3 separate regions of the Homo sapiens genome follow, and regions 1 and 2 are each linked to region 3. Evidence: promoter capture Hi-C in human tissues and cell types (Jung and others, 2019). All regions are on one chromosome and are shown on one strand. The core of a region is centred on a gene start or on the middle of the fragment in contact, and the rest is flanking DNA. Distances in the headings are between cores, read along the strand shown. Region 1 has its middle 17 kb from the start of FMO3. Region 2 overlaps PRRC2C (proline rich coiled-coil 2C). Region 3 holds the start of FMO1 (flavin containing dimethylaniline monoxygenase 1).

Evidence for each region. The method cuts DNA at HindIII sites, captures the fragments that hold promoters and counts their contacts. A contact is called where the count stands out against the background at its distance.
Region 1: a contact is called between a fragment that was not itself captured here and the fragment with the promoter of FMO1 in region 3, in 1 of the 25 tissues and cell types used here (bladder).
Region 2: a fragment that was not itself captured here is called in contact with the fragment with the promoter of FMO1 in region 3 in 1 of the 25 tissues and cell types used here (thymus).

Annotation. Positions count from the first base shown.
Region 1 is chr1:171,071,545-171,076,079 of GRCh38, forward strand. No RefSeq gene overlaps it. Among named protein-coding and RNA genes, the nearest start is that of FMO3, 17 kb to the right of the region's middle. The HindIII fragment of the contact is 4,905 bases long and covers 1-3,851 here.
Region 2 is chr1:171,489,232-171,493,686 of GRCh38, forward strand. The region is part of intron 1 of PRRC2C (proline rich coiled-coil 2C); the gene reads left to right. It also overlaps the pseudogene RN7SL425P. Among named protein-coding and RNA genes, the nearest start is that of PRRC2C, 5.9 kb to the left of the region's middle. The HindIII fragment of the contact is 3,277 bases long and covers 755-4,031 here.
Region 3 is chr1:171,246,008-171,250,128 of GRCh38, forward strand. It overlaps FMO1 (flavin containing dimethylaniline monoxygenase 1), which reads left to right and starts at 2,487. Exons shown (of 9, transcript NM_001282693.2): 1 at 2,487-2,616. It overlaps FMO1-AS1 (FMO1 antisense RNA 1), which reads right to left. Exons shown (of 5, transcript XR_922278.4): 2 at 1,574-1,720. The HindIII fragment of the contact is 7,695 bases long and covers 1-4,121 here.

The DNA of each region.
Region 1 (4,535 bases), core at 149-2,648, 180 kb before region 3:
AACATTCTGCCAATTAAAACTATAATATAGCATTGATTATAAGATGTCGCTATTTCAGAGATGTTAAGATATGATTTGATTAAATAAATTAAGTAGAGTTACAATTTGAGCCCTTTGCTCAAAAATAAAATAAACATATATATTGGCATAGACAGAAAACTTTGGAAATATACACAAAAGCCATTAATAGTGATTGCCTTTGGGGAGTAAAAATGAAGGATATAGGATATAATACTTATTTTGACTTTTTGCTTTTTATTACATTATAAGCAACTTTTATGAGTAATCCAAGCCAGAAGTAAGCACTATGAAACGGGCATTCAATTTTGTCCACCACTGTAATCCTAAATTCAAGAACGATGCCTGTCATCTGGCACTCAAATATATGCTGATTCAATGAATGCTTTTAAACAAGTCACTGTCATTGAAAAGGAAATAAGAAGTCATCTGATTTCTCATCACTAATCGACGAGCTCTGTTGTAATAAGAGCTATGTCATATTTGTCACTGAATCTTCAGCACTTTGCACAAAACCCTGGAACTATATAAACATTTTCAAAATTTAAAAAGCATGTTATGACCGGGTGCTGTGTCTCACGCCTGTAATCCCAGCACTTTGGGAGGCCGAGACAGGTGGATCACAAGGTCAGGAGATCGAGACCATCCTGGCTAACATGGTGAAACCCCATCTCTACTAAAAATACAAAAAATTAGCCGGGTGTAGTGGCAGGCGCCTGTAGTCCCAGCTACTTGGGAGGCTGAGGCAGGAGAATGGCGTCAACCCGGGAGGCGGAGCTTGCAGTGAGCCCAGATCAGGCCACTGCACTCCAGCCTGGGAGACTGAGCGAGATTCCGTCTCAAAAAATAAATAAATAAATAAAAATAATAAAAGCATGTTATGCACAGGAATTTATATTACATATGTTGAGTGTGAAGTAGTGATTTGGAGTAGTCTCTTGACTTAATAAAAGTAGGCTATCAGGAAAAATTGGTTTGATGGCTATCTGCTGGAGGTTGCCAGCAGAAGAAAGGAGAGTGTAGTCAGGAAAGCCAGCTACACTGCCACTATGATATTGAAAGCAAGGTTGCATGAGGGCTTCTATCAAGACTGTGACAACAGGAATGACAGGTGGGACTTTGCATTTCCTTGGCATGTTGAACATTTCAAAATACAATATTATATCTATTACAAAAATCAACATCCCACTCTGTCCTCCAACACCCATAAGGACAGAGTAAGTTGCAAAAATTGAATCCTCAAATAATTAAATTACCGATATTCTCATTGGAGAGTTGTGATAAAATTAGCAATTTTGTCGTATGCTCTGTTTTCAGTAGACTCTTCTGATTCCTCCTCAATGTGTAAACAAAAAATAGAATTCCAAGTCCCCCAGTTGTCTTAATGGACCCCCTCTTGGCCAAGGGAACCCCGAAGAAACCTTAAAGACTTGTTCAAGCCATGATGGAAAGTGGAAGGTCAGACATGCCTCATTGTTCACTCCTCTCTTTGGAGTTTAGATGCAACTAACTAGCAAACTCAAGACTGACAAAACAGACTCCATAGCAATAAAACAATTCCAACCTGACTCTGATATACATGACAGATAACAGGCTCTGAAGGAAAATAAGTATTCTACTCCAAAATATATTTATTTGACAAATTCTGAAATGGCCCTGAAAATCTGTCTCTTGTGGGGAAGATTTGCATTCTGTAGAGAGTCTCTTTCCCTTACTGTTTTTTTTTTTTTTTTTTTTGAGAGTCTGACACCTTTTACGTTCTGATAAGAGACATTCGCCATCTATTCCCTCTGAAGCTTGCTACTTGGAGGCTTCATCTCTATGACAAGAACCTTGGTTACCACAAACCCTTTATCTAAACTCAAGCATTTCTTTATGCTGAGTTCAAGTCTTCATGTGGAGCTTAACTCTTCCACCCAATTGCCAATCAGAACAGCTCTGAATCCACCTATGACCTGGAAGCCCACCTCTCCCACCCATTCAAGATGTCCCACCTTTCCAGGCCAAACCAGTGTATACCTTACATGTATTGATTTATGTCTTTGCCTTTAATTCCTGTCTCCCTAAAATGTATACACCATGTTCTCAGGACCTCCTGAGGCTGTATCATTGGCCATGGTCCTTAACCTTGGCAAAATAAAATTCTAAATTGATTGAGTCCTGTCTCAGATACTTTTTGGTTTACAAATGGGACCTTCTCTGTACCTCTTCCTCTACCACCTTACAGTGACATCGAAATCAATCTAGTCAAACTGTGAATCTACACTTTGGAAAAAGAATGGTAAGAAATATTCCTTTTAGGCCAGGCACTGTGGCTCACACCTGTAATCCCAGCCCTCTGGGAGGCTGAGGCAGGTGGATCGCTTGAGCCCAGTTCAAGACCAACCTGGGAAACATGGTGAAACTCCTTCTCTACAAAAAATACAAAAATTAGCCAAGCATGGTGGCATGTGCCTGTGGTCCCATCTACTCAGGAAGCTGAGGTGGGAGGATCACCTAAGCCCGTGGTGGTTGAGACTGCAGTGAGCCATGATTTCACCACTGCACTCCAGCCTGGGCAACAGAGTAAAACGTTGTGGGAAAGAAAGAAAGAAAAAGAAAAGAAAAGAAAAAGAAAAAAGAAAGGGAGGAAAGGAAAGAAAAAAAAGGAAGGAAGGAAGGTGAGAAGGGAGGGAGGGAGGGAGGGACTCTTTTAGGAAGTTCTTAGTCAAAGAATGTAGAAACCACAGTTCTATAATATTAATATATTGGTTTGAATTGAATTGCTACTTAGAAATATATTTATGAGGCCAAGAGTTACTAAGTTATTCCACAATGTCAGATAATTTAGTTCCTGGTATTTTGGGGTCCCATTTACAGCTTGATTTCTGTTACTGTCTTTTTTCCCTTCCTTTTATTCTCTTCTTTTACCACTTATGTATATGAAAAATGTCTCAAGGTAAAATTTTCCTTCAGGACGTCAGTTATAGAGGAAGGCCTCCCATCAGGGAGTTATAATTGTAGTCAAGAGTAGTTTTCTAAAAAGAGAGGAAAAAAGCCTTTTTAATAGAGGGTAATGGGTGACTGGAAGAATAATTCTAAGCAATAGAAGTTGTCTGGGCTGGCAGTGGCTTTAAATAAGCAAGACGTTCATTGCTGTAAACAAGCTAGGGAAGGGGTTTCACAGTGTGCTTCAACAAGATACAGAGGATATAAATCAATAGGGCCTGACAGCCACACAAATTAATGACATAAATCATGAGTATTTTAGTTCATTTCTTGATAATAAAATGTCCATCACTTTACAGATATATTTACTAAAACAATTCATAGAGTAACCTTGACCATGAAATATTCTCTAATTACTCCAGAAAAGTTTCCAGTAAACGGAACCCATGCATTCAGAGGAACTTACAGGTATTTCAAACATGGATTAACTCTTTACCAAATGAAGAAATATTTTTAAAATATTTTTCTGTCAAAGCATTAACGTTGACTTCTAAAAATTCTTTGCAATGTTTTAATTTGTTTAGCCACAATTAGAAAGTACCAGACACCTGCCCAGCTCTGCAGTTCCCAAGTTTCCCTACTCCCTTCCCCAGATATGGTAGGTTTCTATGTCTAATTTGTACATAGTAGTTAACTTTTATTGAGCTCTTCCAAAGAGCTAAGCATTCTATCTGTATCCTATAATTTAACTGCCCACAGCATTTAATTGCCACATCAAAATATAGGGAAGGAAAAGTCACAGGAAGATAATGTTTTGTAGGGCAAATAAATCAGATGTTTCAGAGAACGTTTTTTCTCTTAATAGGCTTATACGGGCCTATATTTATGCACCTCAGGCTTCAGAGATTTTATTTTACGGCTTGAAATTAAAAGACACTTTCACATTTATTATTTCACATGATAGTTTTTGTTCTAAAAGATATGTACAGAGTACCTTGTAAACTGACCTCGCAATTGCCACCAAAACTGTTAAATTTGTTTTTTATAACACTATAAAATTGGTTTTAAATTATTTGTCTTTATATTGCATGCTTTACTGTCTTTGCATCTAGTGACTTTCCCATCCTTACCATTTCAGCCTCCACTCCCGTAGCCACACCCTGGACCATGTAGAATTACTCCACTACTGATAGCTTAAATTCAAGCAATCCTACTTAAATGACAGAAATTTATTTTCTCATAATTCTGAAGGTTAAACATCTAAGATCAATTTGCTGGCAGATCTGGTTTCTTTTTTTTTTTTTTTCTTTTGAGACAGAGTTGCTCACTCTGTCACCCAGGCTGGAGTGCATTGGCACCGTATCAGCTCACTGCAACCTCTGTCTCCTGGGTTCAAGCAATTCTCCTGCCTCAGCCTCCCAAGTAGCTGGGACTACAGGTGCCCTCCACCGTGCCCGGGGTTTCACCATGTTGGCCAGACTGGTCTCAAACTCCTGACCTCAGGTTATCCGCCCGCCTCAGCCTCCCAAAGTGCTGGGATTTCAGGTGTGAGCCACCGCGCCTGGCCCCAGATCTGGTTTCTTCTGAGG
Region 2 (4,455 bases), core at 1,143-3,642, 240 kb after region 3:
AATAGTATCACAGGTAACCTTCGAAGAGTTTGTGTTAAATAATATGCATTGTGAGATTTATTTACATCTGATTTTTAAAATTTTTAGCTTATTCAACAAAGATTGAAGATTCTTTTAATTTTGTAAGGCCCAGTGAATCAGAGCAATATGGCATTTGGTCCACTCCCAAGGTGTTCACAGCCTTAAGGATTAATGTTAAAAGTTATCTTGTAGTCTTTGGATTCATGCCAGAAGATAAAAAGGTGTATAAGAAGGTAAGGGAAATTTGGTACAGAAAATTACAGATAGTACAGATTGAGTTCCTAGTTGATTATAAGTGAAGCTGTGATGTCTAAGAAAAATCAAGAATAATTGTGATTATTAATATTTCTTGAGCACTTACTATGCCATGTTACTAAACTAAGACTATTTTTTGAATGATCTATTTAAATCCATATTGCAGAAAGCCTAAAAGGAAGAGATTTAAGTAATTTGCTCAAAGTTACTTAGCTTTTAAGTGGTAGAAATGGCATTTGAATTATTGATCCAGAGCCTGAGTGCCTAACTCAACTACATGGGTTTCCTAGTGGCCAGTATTTTCCAAACTTAAATCATTCACAATTTCTGCTTCGTCCCAAACCATCTGCCTGTTACTTAATATTTTTCTTCAATTCAACTTGCTGTCTTTTAATTAAATGAATTTAAACGAATTTTTTTTTTCTTTTTTTAGATGGAGTCTCACTCCGTTGCCCAGGCTGGAGTGCAGTGGCGCTATCTTGGCTCACTGCAACCTCTCCCTCCCGGGTTCAAGTGATTCTCCTACCTCAGCTTCCTGAGTAGCTGGGATTACAGGTGCCTGCCATCACGCCTGGCTAATTTTTGTATTTTTAGTAGAGATGGGGTTTCACCATGTTGTCAGACTGGTCTCGAACTCCTGACCTCGTGATCCGCCCACCTTGGCCTCCCAAAGTGCTGGGATTACAGGCGTGAGCCACTGCATCCTGCCGTTTAAAAGGAAATTTTTATGATTATTTGGCATTAGCTTCCCCCCAACATGTTTTAAAATAAACATGATTTTACATAATTTTCTGTGGATCACTTAAAATCATCCAGTATACTACCAGTCTTTGTATTCCACCCTTTGGGACATTACTGCTATAAGAAATGAATACTGGATAGGATCAGGCCACAGGTACAGTTAATGAAGGTCGAAAGCCTAGAATGGAATAGATTGATAAAATAGGAAATGGCAGCATTACAGGAATAGAGATATGAATTAGTCTTAACTACATACTTGAGACAACCACTTTCATGATAAACCGCAAAGGAGTAGGTTTATTTAGATAGAGAAATGTAATAGGATGTCTAGGACAGTCTATGGCAAGGGAAGAACAAGACAAAATAAGAAGGAAGTCACTATAGAAATCAGGGCAGAAGAGGATAATCTAAAAACAGGATTATTAGAGCTAAATGTAGCAGAGTTCAGAAAAATATGTGACAAGTAGTCTTTGGATTTGGCTGTGATATCCTTGGTGACCTTAAAATAATCTAGGTCAAGTTACAAAAGTGGAAGGTTAAAGGGGGAAGAGGGAAAATCTCTTGATTTTTAGATATATTGAATACTCAAAGTGGACTCTAGACTAATTGTTTTAAAACCTAGGTTTAGTCCTTTTTGTCACTTTGTGCCAGCTGTTAATTTTGGGGCAAGTTAACCTGGCTTAAGTTTTAAATATATTGATTTGTGATACAAGGATAATATCCATTTCCCCTATCTCAGAGGACTATTGCAAAGAGTACATTTATGTATTTCTATATATCTTCTGAATTTAATATTCTTTGATATTACACAATATCAAGACATGAGTCTTGACCATATTTAAAGCAGAAAAGAGAACCACGAAAAGGGAAAATTAAAGATAAAGGGGAAGATACGTTCCCTATAAGGTTGGAAGATCCCTTCTGAATAAATCTTGAGTCTGAAGGATAAGAGATGGATACATGTATGTGGTTGGAGAATGGGTATCTAGATAAGTTAATAATTCATTTTTTCTTCCCTGTTTGCCAGTGAACAATCTGAAGGTACAGGGCTGCTATATATGGTTATGCAGCTTGTATACTGCCCAAAGATGCTGGACTGAAGGAAGCAACAAGTCAGCCTGTGTTCTGCTTACAGAGTCCTGTGCCCCAGCTTAGGCCTCGCAGAGGGAACTGTGCCTCCACTTCTCTCTCCAAGGCATCAGCTCCTTGCCAAAAGTGTCTGTATTTCCCCAGAAGGATGTATTTTTCCTAGTTACATAAAGGCCCTATGGAGAGCAATGGATGCTCTGAAAGACTCCTTAAGGAGACATATTAAGGATACATTTAGAACAACATCAAAAACAATTGGGAAATTGGAGAAATGGTCACTAAGGAACAAAAAGCTTTGAACTTTTTGCTGAGATGGGTTAGGTGGTTGGGCAAGTACAGAATTCTCATTTATCCAGTGTACTTTAAAGATCTGTATTGTAGCTTATTAAATATTTTTATTAATCAAGAAACTATATTAAATATCATAGTTTATCATATTTCAAAGAAGAGTGATAAGAGTAAAACAATACTTAACACAATTTAATCTTACCCAAAAACTTTGTAATTTTGGGGTTTAAATTAAAATTTAGATTTTTGGTCATGTGGCTGGTAGTTTTATATATAAGTAACTTTTTAATGTTAGGTTTTATAATTAAAGCTATATAAATTTTATAGCTCTTAATTGAAGAAGCACAATAGGGAAGGTACACAGTTACTTCTGAAGGTTAGGAAAATGGAACAGTGGCATTTTATTTTGAAAACAGAGGACATTGAAAACAAAGGAGGCTTTAGACAGGTGAATTTTAAGTTTATATTTGGAAATTTGATTTGTGGTGTACAGTTCTTTAAGTTTTAGTACGTATGGATTTTTGTAGCCCCCACAACTAGGATACAGAATGTAGAAAGATAAAACATCTCCCAACTGTAGAACTAGAGTCTTCTGGCATTTTGGAGACAGGGAAATTCTCTTGAAGAAATAACTATTAAAGAGGGATGGAAAAAGCCAAGAATGGCCTACCCATGCTGAATGATTTGTTTTCTGATTAGAAAGAAAAAATATTTTGATTATACTGTTATATTTATGACAAACTTGAACATAGAAAGAATGAAAGTAGGAGAAAGAAAAAGAAGGAGTTGGGTGTTGTGGCATGTGCCTGTGGTCTTAGCTACTTGGAAGGCTGAGGTGGAAGGATCTCTTGAGCCCAGGAGTTGTGGAGGGTAGCGCACTGTGTTCTACATATGGACTGAGTGTCTGCACTAAATTCAGCATCAATAGGGTGTCCTGGGAGTGGGGGACTAACAGGTTGCCTGAGGAGGGGTGAACTGGTCCAGGTTGGCAACAGAGCAGGTTAAAACTCCCATGCTGATCAGTAGTGGGATAGCCATTGCACTCCGGCCTGGACAACATTAAGGTGACCCTGTTTCTTATTAAAAGCAAGAGGGTAGGGGAATTTTTTTAATTTTATTTATTTATTTATTTATTTATTTATTTAGAGACAGAGTCTCTCTCTGTCGCCCAGGCTGGAGGCAGTGGTGCGATCTTGGCTCACTGCAACCTCTGCCTCCCAGGTTCAAGCAATTCTTCTGCCTCAGCAGCCCGAGTAGCTGGGATTACAGGTGTGTACCAGCACACCTGGCTAATCTTTGTATTTTTAGTAGAGATGGGGTTTCACCGTGTTGGCCAGGCTGGTCCTGAACTGACCTCAAATGATCCACCTGCCTCGCCCTCCCAAAGTGCTGGGATTACAAGGCGTGAGCCACTGCGCCTGGCCGGGGAATTTAAATAAAATAAAATAAAATAATAAAAGAAGAGAAGGAAGGAAATAGGTTTACATGTCTTAAGACTGGATATTTCAGTGGTAGAAGAAGAGGGCCAATGATACGGAGGGATGTTAACCAATTCTCTACACTTAATAAATTTAAAATTAATATTCTGACTTTTAAAGGCAACCCTTTGGTCCTCCAAAAGATTAACCATAATTCATAATGCTAGATGAGCATCTTGGAGCAAGTACTTCTCTTTCACTCTCATAACATTCAACATACTTTGGCCTTGCAAAAAACAAAGTTCAATTAACTGGATGGGGTGGCATGTACTTGTAGTCCTAGCTCCTCAGAAGGGTGAGGTAGGAGGATCACTTGAGCTCAAGTTCAGGGTTGCAAAGTGATGGCACTGCTGCACTCCAGCATGGGTGACAGAGTAAAACTGTTGAAAAGGAAAATAATAAATAAAGGTTGACTAAGAAATTATCTATGCTTTGGGCCTGAAGCGATGGCTCACCCTGTAATCCCAGCACTTTGGGAGGCCAAGGTGGGTGGATTACTTGAGGTCAGGAATTTGACACCAGCCTGGCCAACATGGTGAAACCCCATCTCTACTAAAAATACAAAAATTAGTCAGTTGTGGTG
Region 3 (4,121 bases), core at 1,237-3,736:
CCTGGTAAGGCCCAGGGACAAGTTAAGTCCCACCATTAGTGTACCAAATCCCAGTACTTACATACTTACCTTGATGTGTATATGCTGCACACCAAGGTAAATTACAAATCAAACATATTCTGATTTTTGAAAACATACTTGAACTAATAGTCATTTTAAAGGCTTACTCTCTGGGTATAATTAAGCTTGAAATCATCCAAATATTATTATTTTCATAGCTGCAGCAAAGCAGCTGAATTTCACAGAGCTAACAATGCTGTCTCTGTGCTGAATACTTAATAAGCCAGAAATGAGGCAAAAGGTGAGCCCAATGAGCAAGCAGTATACTCAGTGATACACAGGACCTCCAGGTCAAAGGGTTATACCATGTTGAAAATCAAGGAAAAAGACATATTCTTTCAGAAATTTCTCTCTGCTTCAGTCCACCAACCTCTCATGGAATTTATTCTCTGTACCTGTGGGAGTCATTTCAGTGTTATGAACCAGCAATCAAGACACCTTATCTGGTCCAACAATGACAGCATCATCATCATCATCATTATCATCATTACAATCATACACAGTATTTACTATATATACACAAATCTCTTGACATAGATTATCTCATCTAATCCCCACCACAACTATCTGATGCAGATGTTATTATGCCTGTTTTATTTATTTTTTAGAATTTTTTATTTTATTTATTTCAATAGCTTTTGGGGGAGCAGGTGGTGTTTTGTTACCTGGATAAGTTCTTTAATGGTGATTTGTGGGTTTTGGTGCACCCATCATCTGAGCAGTGTACACTATACCCAATGTGTAGTCTTTTATGCATCACCCCCCACTCCAACACTTACCCCCAAGTCCCCAAAGTCCATTGTATCATTTTTATGCCTTTGTATTCTCATAGCCTAGCTCCAACTTATGAGTGAGAACATAGAATGTTCAGTTTTCCACTCCCAAGTTACTTCACTTAGGATAATGGTCTGCAACTCCATCCAGGTTGCTGTGAATGCCATTATTTCATCCCTTTTTATGGCTGAGTAGTATTCCATGGTATGTATATACCACGAATTATTTATCCACTCATTGATTGATGGGCATTTTGGCTGGTTTCATTTTTTGCAATTGCAAATTGTGCTGCTATAAACAAGTGTGTTCAAGTATCTTTTTTGTATAATGACTCCTTTTCCTCATTTTCAAGACAGCATCAGCTGCGGTAGTATAGGGAGAATGCAAGATTGCCCTAAGGTCTCCTGGATAAGTATTCGTGTTTCTCAGGCTAATAGTCAAAACTATTACAAAGTTCAGCTGGAAGTTTCCTTCTCCCTGTGGTCCTTCCTCAATTTCACTGGCAGCCCTCCTCAAGGACCCCTGTGAGATAAAGTCAGAAATGACTTCCCTGGGCACCAAGAGTACCTACAGGGCTCTTCCCACTGCTTCTACTTTTATATTTCGTTTTGCTCTCTAAATTCATCCCAGCTCTAGGTAAGGTTAAATCCTTCTCCTGTGATCTGGATTTTTAGGTTCCCTAGTGGGTTTGCGTGTTTGGAGGCAGATTTTTTCCCCCACTCACACTTTGGGCACTCACAGTTTTTCAGCTGTCTCATGGAGTTTGCAGCGGCAAGCCACTTCTTTCAAAGGTCCTGTGAATTCTTTTGGTTTTCCTGGTATGTTCATGCAGTACTTCTTGGAGGAAAATTTCACTGTGTGAGTCTCCACATGCTGTTCTGTCTGTCTGCGTGGAAACTGCAAGTTAGTCCTGCCTCCTATCCACCATTTTCCAACAATCTGTCGTTAACCATTTCAAAGTATAGAATTCAGTGGCATTTAGTACATTCATAATGCTGTGTAACCACAACCTCTATCCAGTTTCAAAACACTTTCATCACACCCAAAAGAAAACTCCATACTCATTAGCAATCCTTCCCCATTCCCTTCTTTCCCCAGCCCCTGGCAGCCACTCGATCATGCCTATTTTAAATTGAGGAAACTAAAGCTGAGAAAAGTTATACAATTTTTCCAACATGACTCTGATAATAGCTGGTGAACGCAATACTCGAACCCAGGACTTGTGATTCCCAAGATCAGACTCCTCCCATATACCTGTCTTTTATTTCCCAAGTGCTTGGGCAATCAGCTGCACTTAAAAAGCCTTTACAAATTGAGTTTACTAATGTGAGTAATATATGATTTTTTAAAAATAATAATTGTCCCTAAAGGTGAAATGGATCAAAGCCCTTAAAAGTGAATCTGTGGTGTAGTAACTGTTAACATAATTGTCTTATTTTATTCTCATCCCCTTAAAGAATAAAACTGATGAACAAGTGAGGATGCTGGTGTAACTCCCTAACTTAGTTTATAGTCTGTAAGCAGAAGAGTGAGTCTAAAGTACATATCACCAGACAGTGTTTCTCCTAGCATTTCGCTGTTGCATTAATCAACAAGTTAAAATATAAACAACGGCTAACCTTGGGTTTCAAATTTAACATTCCTTATCTCTTAGACCAGGTTTATCCACTGTGCTGGGGACTCCCAAGCCAGCACTGGCTCATACTGATTCATTTTGATCTCTGCTAATACCAGAGTCCTGCGTGGCAGAGCCATTGGCACCAGAAATTACAAGTACGTAAAGTAAGTAACCAGATATAATCTCTGATTTCTTTGGATGAGGAAAGTGGGGTCTGGAGTTTTCCTGTTTTGTTATTGTGCTCCAGGGAAGAACCACCTTATCAGAAAGCAGCTTTCTCTGTCCAACCCTGGAGGAGCTATAAAGCTACTCCTTGGCCCAAAGTATAGGAGTAGTAAATGTTTGGATACTTATAATGGGACAATATCATTGATTCAACCACTTAATAATCTACCCAGCAGTATACTTACCTGTCTTCCATGTACACAGGTAAGTATACTGTTGGGTAGATTATTAAGTGGTTGAATCAAATGGGAAAAACTTGGATTTCTAATGCAAGAGGAAAAGTCTCTTTTTTTTTTTAGTGCTTCCATCAGCAGCTTCTAACATTGTCTGAGATCATAGTTTTTGAAGGGTGACTACCAAATGTTGGCATTTGGCACAAGTGGGAAGCAAAAGGCAAGCCCCTTTAGAATTTGACTAATCTGTTCTGTCATGTCATCTTTTTTTCTGTTGTTAAAAGTGTTTCGTGCTTCATTCTATGTATTATGTCAAAATTTATTGATTTCCATGTGATTGGCACATCTTTTTTACTAATCCTGCTCCAGTTAAATTCACAAGATCATAAACATCAAGGGTTTGAAAATCATTTTTAGATATTCAGGTCTATGCCATCTGTTCTGCAGATGGAGAAACTGAGTCCTTGGTTATTAGAGTTTCCCCTGCATCCTAGGGAATCTGCTATGGCCTTGTAACTGGCACAGAGGACCTAAAGCCTGGGAGAATTTTTATTTGCTTGTTGTGGTTAGGAACATTTGAGTAAATGAGGAGCTGCTGCTAGAGGACAGAAATCCCAGAGTATGGCCCTCCTTGGACCCAAGTTTCTTACCAGCTGTGCTCCTTTGTTCCCAGGGGCTAAGTAGGCACCTTCACCCACCCCAACTGCCATCCAGCTGAATCTCTCTCTGATTACTCCTGAAATGTCACAACCCACTTGAGGATAGGGTATCATTGTGCAGTCTGTGCCAACCAGTATTCTGAAGTATTTTCATGCACTAAGGTGTAGGAGTGTGTGTGTGTGTGTATGTGTGTGTGTGAGAGAGAGAGACAGAGGGAGTAGGGAAGGAGGAGAAGATGGGGAATGCATAAATAGAGGGCTGGATACAAATCTGACAGTGCCAATGGCTTCCTAGTAAATGCATAGGTGAGTCACACTGGAAACAGTTAAACATTGGCTAATTGATACAATGCTAGCCTCAAATATAGTATAATATGCATTTTCTTGACATCAACAAATAAAATCTCCGGGTCAATAAAATAAACTCGGAAAATAAAACTCTTGCCCAGAAGTTTTCAACTTTCTAGGTTCAAGGAGCCCTTGGTGTGCAATTTCTTCAAGGTGCCCCCAGACCATAGTTTCTCCTATTAAGTAGACAAAAACTTAATAACTATTTATGTTCTAACAACTTTGTAGTTTTTTGAACAAGTAATATACAAACTAAAAGAAAAA